Regions from separate parts of the Homo sapiens genome. Here region 1 is linked to region 2. Evidence: promoter capture Hi-C in 16 types of primary human blood cells and fetal thymus (Javierre and others, 2016). All regions are on one chromosome and are shown on one strand. Each heading gives the region's core, a stretch centred on a gene start or on the middle of the fragment in contact. The rest is flanking DNA. Distances are from core to core; before and after follow the strand shown.

Evidence for each region. Contacts are between HindIII fragments. The CHiCAGO score rates a contact against its expected background, and 5 or more counts as called.
Region 1: a contact is called between a fragment that was not itself captured here and the fragment with the promoter of ZXDA in region 2, in 3 of 17 cell types (total CD4 T cells, erythroblasts and activated CD4 T cells). The highest score is 10.2, in total CD4 T cells.

The regions. Positions count from the first base shown.
Region 1 is chrX:56,988,907-56,995,161 of GRCh38, forward strand. SPIN3 (spindlin family member 3) reads right to left here. Exons shown (of 2, transcript NM_001010862.3): 2 at 1,925-6,043. The coding sequence starts at 6,041. The coding sequence ends at 5,265. Among named protein-coding and RNA genes, the nearest start is that of SPIN3, 3.5 kb to the right of the region's middle. The HindIII fragment of the contact is 1,095 bases long and covers 3,814-4,908 here.
Region 2 is chrX:57,907,832-57,914,415 of GRCh38, forward strand. It overlaps ZXDA (zinc finger X-linked duplicated A), which reads right to left and starts at 2,627. Exons shown (of 1, transcript NM_007156.5): 1 at 1-2,627. The coding sequence starts at 2,589. The coding sequence ends at 190. RefSeq lists a silencer at 1,795-2,054. The HindIII fragment of the contact is 7,022 bases long and covers 1-4,744 here.

The DNA of each region.
Region 1 (6,255 bases), core at 3,111-5,610, 920 kb before region 2:
TGCCCAGTTCAACCCCCAAAAAGGGCATCCACCCAAGATATGCCTCCAAGAGAGAACGTCTCAGAAAACACAAAGAGGTATTTGACCAAAGGAGTCACTCAACTGCCAGGATAGGTAGTCCTTGTCTAACAGGTTATGATATATGCTTTGGACCAGAAGCTACTATGTATTGTTTCCTATTTCCTCCCTTTTTCAAATGGTAGTTTTGATTATATTTCTCTGGTTATCTCCCCACTAGTGTATATTGGGTATGTTGAGAAGAGTAGTTTATAATTTAAGTATAGGTGACCAGACTGCAAGGAAGATGGATCTAAAGATGGCTGCATATCAACTAGGGATCTTGAACTTAACGCTAAATGCAGTAACTAGATAAGACTTCAGGTTTTTCTCCTTTGGGGACATGAATTTATCACACCTACATGTGGGCATTCTTTGAAAGAGGATGTGTAGGAAGAAATGTGTCCATGGATACTAGGTATTCAAATGAAGAAGCTATACTAGATATTTGTGATTGGTGAATAGCATTCATTATTCATTTACCCAAAGCCCTTGATTCTACTGGAAATCCATCTGGTTTCAGAGAGATATACCCTAGTGCAGGGGTCCCCAACCCCTGGGCCACTGACAAATACTGGTCCATGGCCTGCTAGGAACCAGGCTGCACAGCAGGAGGTGAGTGGCAGGTGGGTAAGCAAGCGAAGCTTCATCTGTGTTTATAGCTGCTCCCCATCACTTGCATTACCACCTGAGTTCTGCCTCCTGTCAGATCAGCAGTGGCATTAGATGCTCATAGGAGCATGAACCCTATTGTGAACTGTGCATGCAAGGAATCTAGGTTGCATGTTCCTTATGAGAATCTAATGCCTGATGATCTGTTGCTGTCTCCCACCACCCTCATTTGGGACAGTCTAGTTGCAGGAAAACAAGCTCAGGGCTCCTACTGATTCTACATTATGGTGAGTTATATAATTATTTCATTATATATTAGAACATAATAATAGAAATAAATTGCACAATAAATGTAAGGCATTTGAATCATCCCCAAACCACCCCCCTCCCCTCACCCACCCTGTCCGTGGAAAAATTGTTTTCCATGAAACCAGTTCCTGGTGCCAAAACAATTGGGGACCACTGCCCTAGAGGTTAGGGATGGAACACCTGACCTTGCTAAGCCAATCAGTGTATTTCATCCCTGAGATTTTAGTGATTGGTCAAAGTATCTGACCTAAGCCAGCTGAGAATACATCATAGGACACAGGTTATCTATCTTTCTCTAGATTGGACTGCTGTAGCCTGGAACTGCTGGTCCAATTTTGCTACCATAAGAAAAAACAGCCTGAGAATGAAACTGACACACAGAGGGAAAATCCTAAAGAATCATAAACACTGAGCCTGAGCCCCAATTCAAACTATGCCTGAAGCCCATCTGAGCTCTAGATTTTTTTTAAATTTATATTGATCAACGTTTGGTAACAGTTTAAGCCTGTTTGAAATGGGTTTCCTGTTACATGCAGGCAAGTTCTGTTAGAAAAGGCAAATCAAAGCTATAAATATGAATTTGCATATTGCAGTAGATGTGAGTGCAAGTTTAAACAGAAAAAAATAATTGTTCATTTCATTTCTGGTTTATTAATTATATAGTACCTTAACTTTCCCCACAGCTTCAATATATAATTGGTTTTCCTTTTAACTTCCCTCAGTAAAAATATACTGGCCTCTCTTGAGAAGTTCCTCTCAGAGAATACGTTATGTTCACATATATTTCACATTCTACTTTTGAGAAAAATTGGACTGGCAGAAATTGTGGGTTTGTAGGGTCATGTAAGTTTTCATTAAACTGGGTTAGGGTCTGAAGGTTTGAATTAATTACACCTCCTTCCCTTCCAGATTCTGAACCAATTAAAAAATATACACAGGAATCAAATAGGGATTAAGATATCAGCTTTAATATATTGTTCAGTGAAAAAAGCAAAATTCAGAACAGCATGTATAGTATGCCACCATTTGTGTAAAAAAAAAAAAAAAACCTGATACACACATACCCACACACAATATGCTTGTAAATACATGGAATATCTCTGGAATGATACATCAGTAACTGGTAACAGTTGTTACTTTTTGAAAATGGGACCAGGGAACTGAGGCCAGGGGTGAGAAGGAGGAAGAGAGACTTACTTTTTAATAGTATACCCTTTTATACTGTTTGACTTTTACCATAGGCATGTGTTATTTTTCTAAAAAACAATTTATATATTAAAACTGTAAAAAAGAATCAAAATAGATACCAGCTTTATAGCTGATAGAGCTGGATTGGAGAACATGGCTTGGACCTGAGGCTGAAATGAACTTCTATCATAAGTCTAACGACTTTGGGATTCCCCCACCCCAAGGAGAGATAGTTGGGTCTAGAAAGCAGATGTTTACCCAGCCATGTAGTGAAGGACTGCAGTCTTTCCCACATCTTGCTGTGTGGAACGAACTCAAGATCCAAGAGTGGCCTAAGCTGCCTATCCATTATAACCATTTTCTCAATCTCATCAAGTTATTCCTCCTCCCAAGCATAAGATTGAATGAGTGTAAGAGAAGATGGGTAGAACTTTCTTCCAAACATTTTTGAGAGATGCAAGTCTTTTCCTTTTCTTGAGTCAGGAGCATGGAGAGAGGAAGAGGATAGATCCCATCATACCCTTGTACATTTTCATTCTCTTAAGCCACAATGGTTAATGCTCAAGACTCTGGTCAACAAACAGGGCTGTGGCTGTCCCCTTCCAGGGAGACCAACAGTATCTTAGAAAAGTTCTGCTCCCATCAATGTAAGATTGGTGAGCAGTTGTTTTTGCCCCCAAGAGGCTCTGAAATAAGTCAAAATAGAACAGTAATTAAATTAACTCTAAGGCTACATTACACCCTAGACTGAAAATTTGATCACAATTGCAGCCCTAATTTACAATTATGTCCAGCCATATTTCCTGACATAGCTGACAACAATTATACAATGACTCCCAAAGATAGCATTAAAATACTCCAAATAATACAATATCAACAACATAATAAAAATGCCTTAGTTTGAACTATATGACCTCACCCCCACCCCATCAACTATTAAACTCCAAGGGAAAAAGGACTGCCCAAAATTAAATTTCTAATTCAAAGTCCAAAATAATTAAAGTCCAAAATTCTGCCTTTCCCAATTTCTCGTTTTTCTCATTTCAGCCATATAGATCTCACAAAGATGTCTGCCCAGATATGGGGTTCCTTCAGCAGCTGCAGCCTTGGCTGTCTTCCTCTTGACTGGGTGAAGTTCCTTCAGGACCTCAGGAGTTGAATTAATCTAACCCCACAATTGCATGTCATACATATTAAAGAGTCCAAAGGGTCAAGAAGACATAAGATTATCACAATATCAACCTCACATCAAAAAAATTAGAAAGCACACTAGTCCCCAGCCACTAGAACAGTTTTTTTAAGCAAATATATGACCCCAGGACTTAGAACATAGGGCAATACAGACCCACATTGCTGTTGTCAGTCAAACATCATAGTAGAGACTTAGTGGCATCAAAAAGCAAAAGTAGACAGATAAAACATAGGAGAAAAGAGAACATCTTCTTTGTTTCATCCTCAGCAGGATGCCAATCTGTGCCGGTAGTCTGGACTCCATGACCTGTGAACTTAAACTAATTTGGAAGATATCTTGCAGTACAGTCCCAATATGATTGTACTGCCTTGAGTCCCAGCCCCAAATGTGCAGAACTCCATGGCCTTATTAGGCTGTTACTGCTAATGGAGCTTCTGTGAGAACCTCAATGAGAAAGCTTTGGTTTTGGCCAGGTGCTTCTCTCAAAAACCATGCTTGTACTTCAACTTTTCTTTCCTAGGCTTTGGTTAACCTCCGCCAATGGCTCTTTAATAATGGAAAGCTCAAAGGCCCTTCCATTGTTTACTTTTCTGCCACAGTAGAACTCACCCTTATCTGCATATAAGTTTCTTAGGGCCAGCCAAGAAACAGGATAGTTAAAAATCCAAACACTAACAAAAATCTATTAGATTTCTATCTACCAATGCCAGCACTTAAAACATCATTAAGCCTACAGATTACCTACCACTGACTGTGTTCCAAGTCCTGCTGGGATACCATAATAGATGAGCCCACCAGTCCCTGCAAGGAAGTATAGCCTGCTTTCAGCCATTCTTGGTTCTCACAAGTGCCTTGCCCACCTCACATGCTGGGACTCTGAATTCAGTCTCCTAAGAATCAAATCTAAAACTTGAGTCTCTCTTAGCACAGCAAAGAAATCTGTATCTCAGTTTGATTCTAGGTTTCTCCTCTTTCATTTTGAGGTTCTGGACAGATCTGTCCAAACCCAGCCAAACCCAGCCTTTGCCTGTGACTGAGGGCTCTAGCTAGAGCCTGGCTTAATGCTCCTCTGGGCTGGCAAAGACCATTTGTGCTAAAGTCTGCCTGCACAGCTTCTATCAGTTAAAACCTACTCCATGTCTGCAGATACCAGCCAGAGCTATTGGAGACAAGAGAGACCCTAATGCCACTGATGACTAAAACCTTTCACTTAAGCTCCACCAGAAATCTTGATCTCTCCACTTGGAGTTTGGTCCCCAAATGCTTGTCTTCTTATCAGTTTTGCAAGGTTTCTCAGCCTATGGTTAGGTACTAAAATGCAAAGTAATTACCTTCTTAATTCTAAAACAGTTGAGCAATAGGTGAAAGAACCGGAAAGAGAGCAAAATTATTAGCCTTACTTTTAGTACAGTTAGAACTGAGAATGCAACTTGAACAAGAGACCAAAATGGGCTTCCCACTCTTTCCCAAGTTAGATTTTTGAAGCCACTTGGGGGAGATTTGAGATTGCAAAGACACTTACCCAGCCAGTCACATGGGATATCTCAGCAAGCTTCACACCTCAATGAGTGTAGAGTCCAAGTGCCAAAAAGAGTGAGGTGAGAGGTGTTCAGCTACCTTTAATCTATTAACACCACCCAAGATAAAAAAAAGTATGAGCCAATGGATGTCAGACTTTACCCTTCTCACTAATCAGTTAAATTGCGGAGAGGAACCAGTGAAAAGGTTGGACAGATGGGCAAAAGGTTTCTTCCAAAAACGTATGAGAGGGCAGAAGTTCCAATTTTTTTGCCAAGCAAAACGTGCAAAAAGGGAGAAGATGGTTCTTACAAACTGGAAAGCAATCAAGACTTTCTGTGTCTACAGATTTAGAGTCTCATATATTTGGCAAATTTCAAGATGACCTCTAAGATGTTTTTACCAAATCGTAGACATAGATATGGAAATCATCATCAAATTTGATGAAGTACACAGAGGGTTTTGCTTCTACCTGATGAATGACCATGCCAGTTCTCTTGGAGCCATCGTCTTTGGCGTATTCCACCTGTTTGCCTACCAGGCTGTCTATGACTTCTCCTGGCTCCCTCTCTGCCAGAGGAGAATCATTGGAATCTTGAAGGATGCGGAGGTCACCATCTTTATAATCATCTAAGAGCTGGTACATATATAATACAGGATCTTTCTCATAGGTAATGTAAAACCATGTGTTCATGACAGGTGCCTGAGCTAAGACCATCCCCCTCCATTCATTTTTGGAACCTTCCTCTGTCTCAAAAATATGTTCCACTGCTTTGCCAACCATTATTTCTGCCAAGTGTGTATCACTGATTCTAGATGATGCAACTCTATTAGGAAGGACTTCAAGTGATGACACTCTTTCATCTCTGTGAAGTTCCAATCCATAAACACAGTCAAATCCATCATATTTGATAAGATACAGAGAGGGATTTACAGGTACCTGATCCAGAACGGTTCCTTTCCACTGTGTTAGAGGTTCATCTCCATCTTTCCATCCGTGCTGAATTCTGCAGCCCACGATGTTCCCCCGAGGCTGGGAGGTGGGTCGGCTCCTATGCTTCTTGTGTGCAGCCTTCCTCTTTATCATGGTAACAGACACACTGCCGTGGCCAGCGCCCGTCCTGGACCGCTGCCCTGCAGCTGCCTTTCCAAACGGGGTCTTCATGCCTGCGAAGAGGAGCACAGTTGCCAGGTGGACCGAGAAAGGAAATTAACAAAATCAATGCATAACACGGAGAGCTTTTTCTCCTAATCAGCGCACCCAGTAAACCCACACCTGTTTTTCCCGAAAGCTAGATAGCAAAGCTGGAAATCAAGGCACCCTGGCTGAGTGCCTGCAGTAACCTTCCTCCCCAGCTCAGTCTGGCTAAGATCTGCGG
Region 2 (6,584 bases), core at 1,377-3,876:
GCTGAGGGTCACACAACTTGTCAGTTCCAGACTCAAGATCAGAATTTAGATCTCCAAACTCATAGTCCAGGGCTGTGCTCTTTTTGCAAACCAAAAAGAAATGACTGCACTTAAATATTTAGTCCAGAATATCCTCAAAATTGACTGTAATAAAAGTTAGCCACATGGCAAGGAATGAATAGAGTTGCTTCATACCAAAAATGAGCTGCCAGTCACAGTGATAAGATTTCTTTCTTTCTGAGAACCATGGTTTCCTGCTGCATTGGGGAATCCAAACTGGGTTTCTCCCTCCTGTCCAAAGAAGTCAGAGTTAGGATGTACGCTCCACTCCGCTTTGGCTGGTGTCAGTAGTTCTGAGACACTGTTTTCACAAAGGGTGCTCGAAGGAGTCAGAGTATCTGTGTCCACTGTTAGCTTACTGCTGGGTGTCAAAGCCTGAGGCTCTGGACTGGAGTTTTTCATGGCCAAAGAGTCCAGAGATCCCAATGGCCCCACACTTACACTTGAGACCTCATCCATATTTAAGGAGCTCTGCTGAAAACCAGTGGCCGCCGTTCCAAAAAAGAGAGAGGTATCCAGACTTTGAGGAGGGTCGCTGGTGGCCATCAAGGACGGAGGGTCCACAGCCTGCCCTACGGAATTATTATTATTAGCAGGGAGGTGCCCTGCCAGAGTCGAGCTCACAGAAGCCACATCAATAGTCAAGATTCCAGAGTTCACCAATGCTGTGTCCAGCAATGCAGCAGAAGTACTGTCAGGTACATCAGAGAAGAGAGACACTATCTCTGCATCACTGAGATCATTCTGTCTCTGGCTGGTAAGTTCACTGCTGGGTGTAAGAGAATTTGCTGCTTCTAGCTGAGCTAAGAGATCCTGGCCCACCTTATGCCTTTTAACCATGTGCGTCTTCATGCTGTGCTTGGATGTGAAGAGTTTATTACAAGAGGAGATCGGGCAACGGCTTTTCCAAGTGTCCACATCCTGCAGGTGTTTCTTGGAGTGAATGTAGAGGCTACTGCGAGCAGAGAACCTGGCACAGCAGCCTGCCACAGGACACACGAAAGGCTTTGTGCCCAGGTGGGTAATGCTGTGGCCTTTCAGATGTTCGGCCCTCGTGAAAGATTTCCCACAGCCTTCCACAGGGCACATGAACCTCCGGTCATCGTCGTGCTTCCTTTTGTGCCTTAAGAGTTTGGACATGCTGGTGAAGTTCCAGCCACAGCCATCAAAGTCACAAAGGAAAGGTCTCTCGCCGGTGTGACTCCGCAGGTGAATTTTCAGCCTACAAGCCTTGTCATATTGCTTGCTGCAGCCAGGGAAAGAGCAGGAAAACAGTTCCTGTTCCCTGAAATGGGCGCGGTTATGGGAAAACAGAGCACTCACTGTGATAAATGTCTTCTTGCAGCCAGAAAACGCGCACTGGTAAGGCCTCTCGGGTTCGAAGTGGCTGCGCTGGTGGGCGCCGAGTTTGGCCTGCGTGGGGAAGCTCTCCTCGCACACCTCACATTTGAACGAGTTCTCCTGCTCATGGCCCTTCATGTGCGCCTTGAGGTTGTACACGGTGGTGAAGCTCTTGCCACAGCCCTCCGCAGGGCAGCCGAAGGGCCGCAGTTTATCGTGCGACTGCAGGTGCCTCTTGAGCTTGTAAGAGGTGGTGAAGGTCCAGCCGCAGCCACCCAGGGGGCATTTGAAGGGCCTCTGGCCCTGGCTGCTGCTGTGCGTCAGCAGGTGCATCTTCAGCTGGTGCTTCTTGGCGAAGGTTTGCCCGCACAGCGCCTCGGGGCACAGGTACAGCACCACGCCTGGACCAGAGCCCAGCAGTCCGCGGGGGCCCAGGGCGGCGGCCAGGCCCTCCGCCTCCTCCTGGGGCGCCGGAGCAGGCGCGGGTTCTGCGGGCTCGGCTAGCAGGAGGTCGGACCGCAGCTCTGGGCAGTCACCCGGGTGCGCGGCTTGCGGGAACCCAGCTTGGGGGGCGATCAGACACCTGGGCTGCTGGGCAGGAGCGGCCCCTGGCTCCCAGGCGTGTGGTGGGGGCGTGGCCAGGGTGAGGACGCCGTTCTCAAAGCGCAACAGCAGGTCCTGGTTGTGGATAGTGACTGTGCCCGCGAAGGCCGCGGCGGGGCCGGGGGCGGAGATCGGGGCCGGAGTGGGAACCGCGGACAGGCAGTGGGGGCCCTGCGCAGAGCAGCCCGCGGGGTTCGCGCCGCTCTCGTCCCCCTGGAGCCCCGGGCCCGCCTTGGCCTCCTCCCTCAACACAGGCCCTGCGGCCTGACCGGAGCCCGCGGTCTCCACGTCGCCACCCACCGGGTCAAGCAGCACCAGGAAGAAGTCGTCGCCGCCGCCGCTAGGTTGATGGGGCCTCGGCGCGAACAGGCTTGGGCCAGGGCCCCGTGATGCCGTGCTGGCCTCCTCGCGCCGCCGCCCGGGCCCGCCATCTTGGGGGCCCCGGGGCAGCAGGAGGCGGCGCGTGGGGACCTGGCCAGCCGGCGAGTCAGGGCCTCGGTGGACTCGGCCGCCACCCGCGGGGATACCGCCGCCGCCGCCGCCCTGTAGTGTCCCGCGAGCCGGGAGCAGCTTCGGGATTTCCATCTCTGCGTCCGAGAGGCTCGGCTGGAACCAGAGCCGAGGAGGAGGCGCGATCCCGCCCCCTGCCGCGGGCCTGAACACGTTCCTGAAAGGGGAAAAAAAAATGTGCAATGCGCAGAAACTGGCCCTATCAGATATTAAAATGTATTCAACGCCACAGTGATTTAAATATTCTGGTACTGGGTCTCTGGAACGGAATAGAAAGCCCAGAGGTAGAGCCTGGTATGCATAAATATATTCTACAATTAATATAAGTAATTAAGGAGGTCTTCTGAAGTAATGGGGAAATGACGACATCTTGTTCAATAATGCTGTGGAACACCTAGGTATCTATCTGGTAAAAGCAATTTTAATCCGTGACTCATTGTATATACCCAAATAAACACACGCCAGCCCCTCCCAGTGTTAGACATGTTGCTTCATACTTTTTGTGTGTTAAAATTTGTTTATTGGCTGGCTACCTGGCTGGATTGATGGATGAAAGACAATTCCTGAGAGAAAAAACTGTCTCTGTGTCAGCATTAAACCACCATAGTGCTGGCATTTCTGCGGAAATTGCCCTTCCCCTTCCCACCTCTGCGCGGGACAACTTCCATACTCACAATTGTCTTGAGCAAAGTGCTCGGTACAATTTGCCACATAGTTCAATTTTTGTCTGCTGATAACAGAGATTAGAATGAGTGAGAGATGCGGCCAAAACAGATTAGCACTCTTCAGCCTACAAATGCAAAGTCTGGAGGATGAAACAATTTATACTGAAATCTGGAAAAAAACCCAACCCGCCCCTGGCTTCTCCCTATACAGTGCACAACCTAAACCAACTCTTTGCCCTTCGACGATCGGTTGTACCATGATAAACTTCATGTCCACTCTCATAGCACAATGAGGGCATTGCTCAGTTTATTCTGCATTCTCCAGCACATTCTCTGGGCAGGAGTTCCAGTTAAATGTGTTAAGGTTAAACCCTCAGTCACTCAATGGACTCTGCCAAGTAATGTGCACAGACGATCTTGTCCACTCGCCCCGGTGTACCTGCTCACATTTAAGTGTGGTGGCCCAGTCTTGCTGGGCCTTTGGTGCCTAATGTCCTTATTAATGATGACGACAATCCTCCAATTTGTCTGTCACGAATGAGTTTGGAATTGACACAAATATAGGGTGAAATATCTGAGATGAGAAGGCTTAGAGTGATGAACAGATTGGTGGTGGTGGGGGTGGGGGGGTGTAACCTGTTGTTTAAATACTCCCAGCTCTCTCGCCCTCTTTTAATAACAGTGGACACTTGGTCTCTTGAAAATCAAGTTTTTCAACCATAACTATTCGAACCTCATCAAAATTTCTACTCCACATACTTTTCTTTCTATTACTTTTTCTGGAGGAAGCACTTTTCAAATCTGAAATTAGAAGAGTGCATATAACGTATCTGTATAGTTTAGATTATTTTACAAAAGCAGACACCTACTTAACCAGGACCAAGGTCAAGCAATAGACCACTGCCAACCTCCCAGAATACAGCTGCTGTACTCCTTCCAGTCACAAACCACACTCTCCTATATAGATATAGTAATTGCTCCGACTTTGTAATAATCATTTCACTGCTTTCCTTTATAGCTTTATCACTTTTGTACGCATCCCTAAACAATAGAGTTGATATGAAGTTGTATAAGTGGAATCATACGGCATGCTTCCTTTTATAGCTTGCTTTTTTCACTCTGTATTATACTTGAGAGACTCGTCCATGTTGTTCATAATAGCTATAAGTAAGTAGATCCTTTGTCTCCATCGACTGTCTTTCCAGCATATGCTTATAGCAAAGTGATTATTGTATGATTATTCCACTCCATTCTACAGCAGATGGAGATTAGGATTGCTTCTACTTTTCAATGATTATTGTGAACATTCTTGCACATTTCTAATGGGACACGTGTAAAAATCTCTCTAGGGTATATATCCAAGAATAGAATCACAGGGCCATAGGGAATGGATATCCTCAGCTTTACTAGATGATGCCAAATTGTTCTCTGTAGTGATTGGGAGAGTTGTCAATCCCACCAGCAGCATAGAGAGTCCTTACTGATCCACATGTTCACCTACACCAAGTATTGCCCGAATTTAAATTTTGCCGGTCTACTGGTGGGCAATATCCAAATTACTATTAAGCTTTAGCACATTTTTGTGTTAATGAGCCTTTTGGAGTTTCTATTTTGAGGAAGGCCTATTCAAATTTACCTCTTTTAACCCACGTTTCTATTTTATTGTTCATCTGATACTGACTTAATGAGTCTGTTAAATATTTTAAATACTCTTCCACACCTGCGGCCAAAATACTCCCTTGCTCTGTTTGTATATTCACTTGCTTTGTGCTCCGGTTTGTGAACAGAAGCTATTAATTATAATATAGTCAATTTCATCATTCTTTTCCTGATGGTTAGTGCTTTTTTGTTTTAAGAAATCTTTTCTGTTTTAAGGAACCCTGGACCATGAAAGCATTCTCTATATTTTCTTCTAAAATATGTCTGCTATTGTCCTTCATAGTCAGGTCTTAATCCACCTGCAATTGATGTTTGTGTATTGTGTTAAGTAGAGTTCCATTTATGTATATATGTATGTAAGTAAGTGAATATCCAGTTTTCTCAGTGAACCACTTATTGAAAAGTCTGCCTTTTGCCAGTTGATTTACAGTGCCATAAATCAAGTATCTACACATATGTGGGCTAGTTCTATACTCTCTATTAAGCACTTGTCTGTTTGAAATACCACACTGTCTTAATTACTACAGATCCATAGTCAATTCTGATATTTGGATTAGGCAAATCAATTCTACCTTGCTCTTCAAAAGTGTCTTGGCTACTTTTGGTCCATTTCAATTCCATTTAAATTATAAACTAATCGTAAAAACTTCAACCAACAGCTAGTTTGGGGTTCTAATTTGAATTGTGCTGATATTTTAGATTTGACTTCTCAATATTGAATGTTCGATTCGTGGTTATGGTCTATCTCTTCTGTTAATAAGATCACCTTTAATTTGCCCAAATATTATTTTATATTTTTCCCACAAGGCAACTTTTTTATCCTAGGCATTTAATATTTTGCAAATCATATGTTTGAAATTTTTATTGTCTAAATTTATAGCTCTAAATAGCATACAATTGGCTTTTGTTCGTTAAGATTTTATCCTATAAGCATATAAACTCTTCTATCGATTCTAATAATTTGTCTGTAATACTTTGTAGAATTTTATATACACTGTCATATCATCTGAAAATAGTTCCAGTCTTTCTTCTTCCTTTCCAAATATCTTATTCCTTTTTCTTGCCCTACTGCTCTGCCTGGGACCCCGCCCCTACCCCCAGTAAACTATTGCATAGAAGTGGTGATAGTGGATATCCTTACTTGATGTAGCTCTTGAAGAGAAAGCTTTCAGTGATTCTCCATTAAGAATGATGCTTGCTGTAGATGTTGTGTTCTGCAGCAATATGGATCCAATCAGGAGATAGAAAGCACACAGTGATCTAGAAGGGGAAAATTTAATATAAAGAATCATTAAGCGATGATAAAAGATCTTGTATAGGATACAAGACAACTCTATGTGGGGTTTTCTGGGGCTGGGAGAGAGTACCCAAGGAAAGACAAGCTTAGAATGAAAGCTTCTCCCCAAGGATGGATTTTATACCTAATTGGAGAAGAACCTACTGGATGGCAGAGAAGTTCCACTGGTTTGCCAGTACCTAAGCTGGTCTACAGAGGCAGAACTGGTCTACGGTCGCAGAGGAAGCAAGAAGGCACCCTTTGGAGCATGGTAGTGTGGACAAGCCATAGCTGGTGCCTAGTATGTGGTGTGAAGTAGGGGTTGGGAGTCCTGTCTCAGTTGGAGGCCTGGAGTAAACAATGCCCCTTGCACAGGATCAGGGTGGGGGCTCGGTGTTGAGAGGGCTGCAGTATTGAAAGGACTACATGAACCTGGTCGTGTGTGTGTGTGTGTGTGTGTGTGTGTGTGT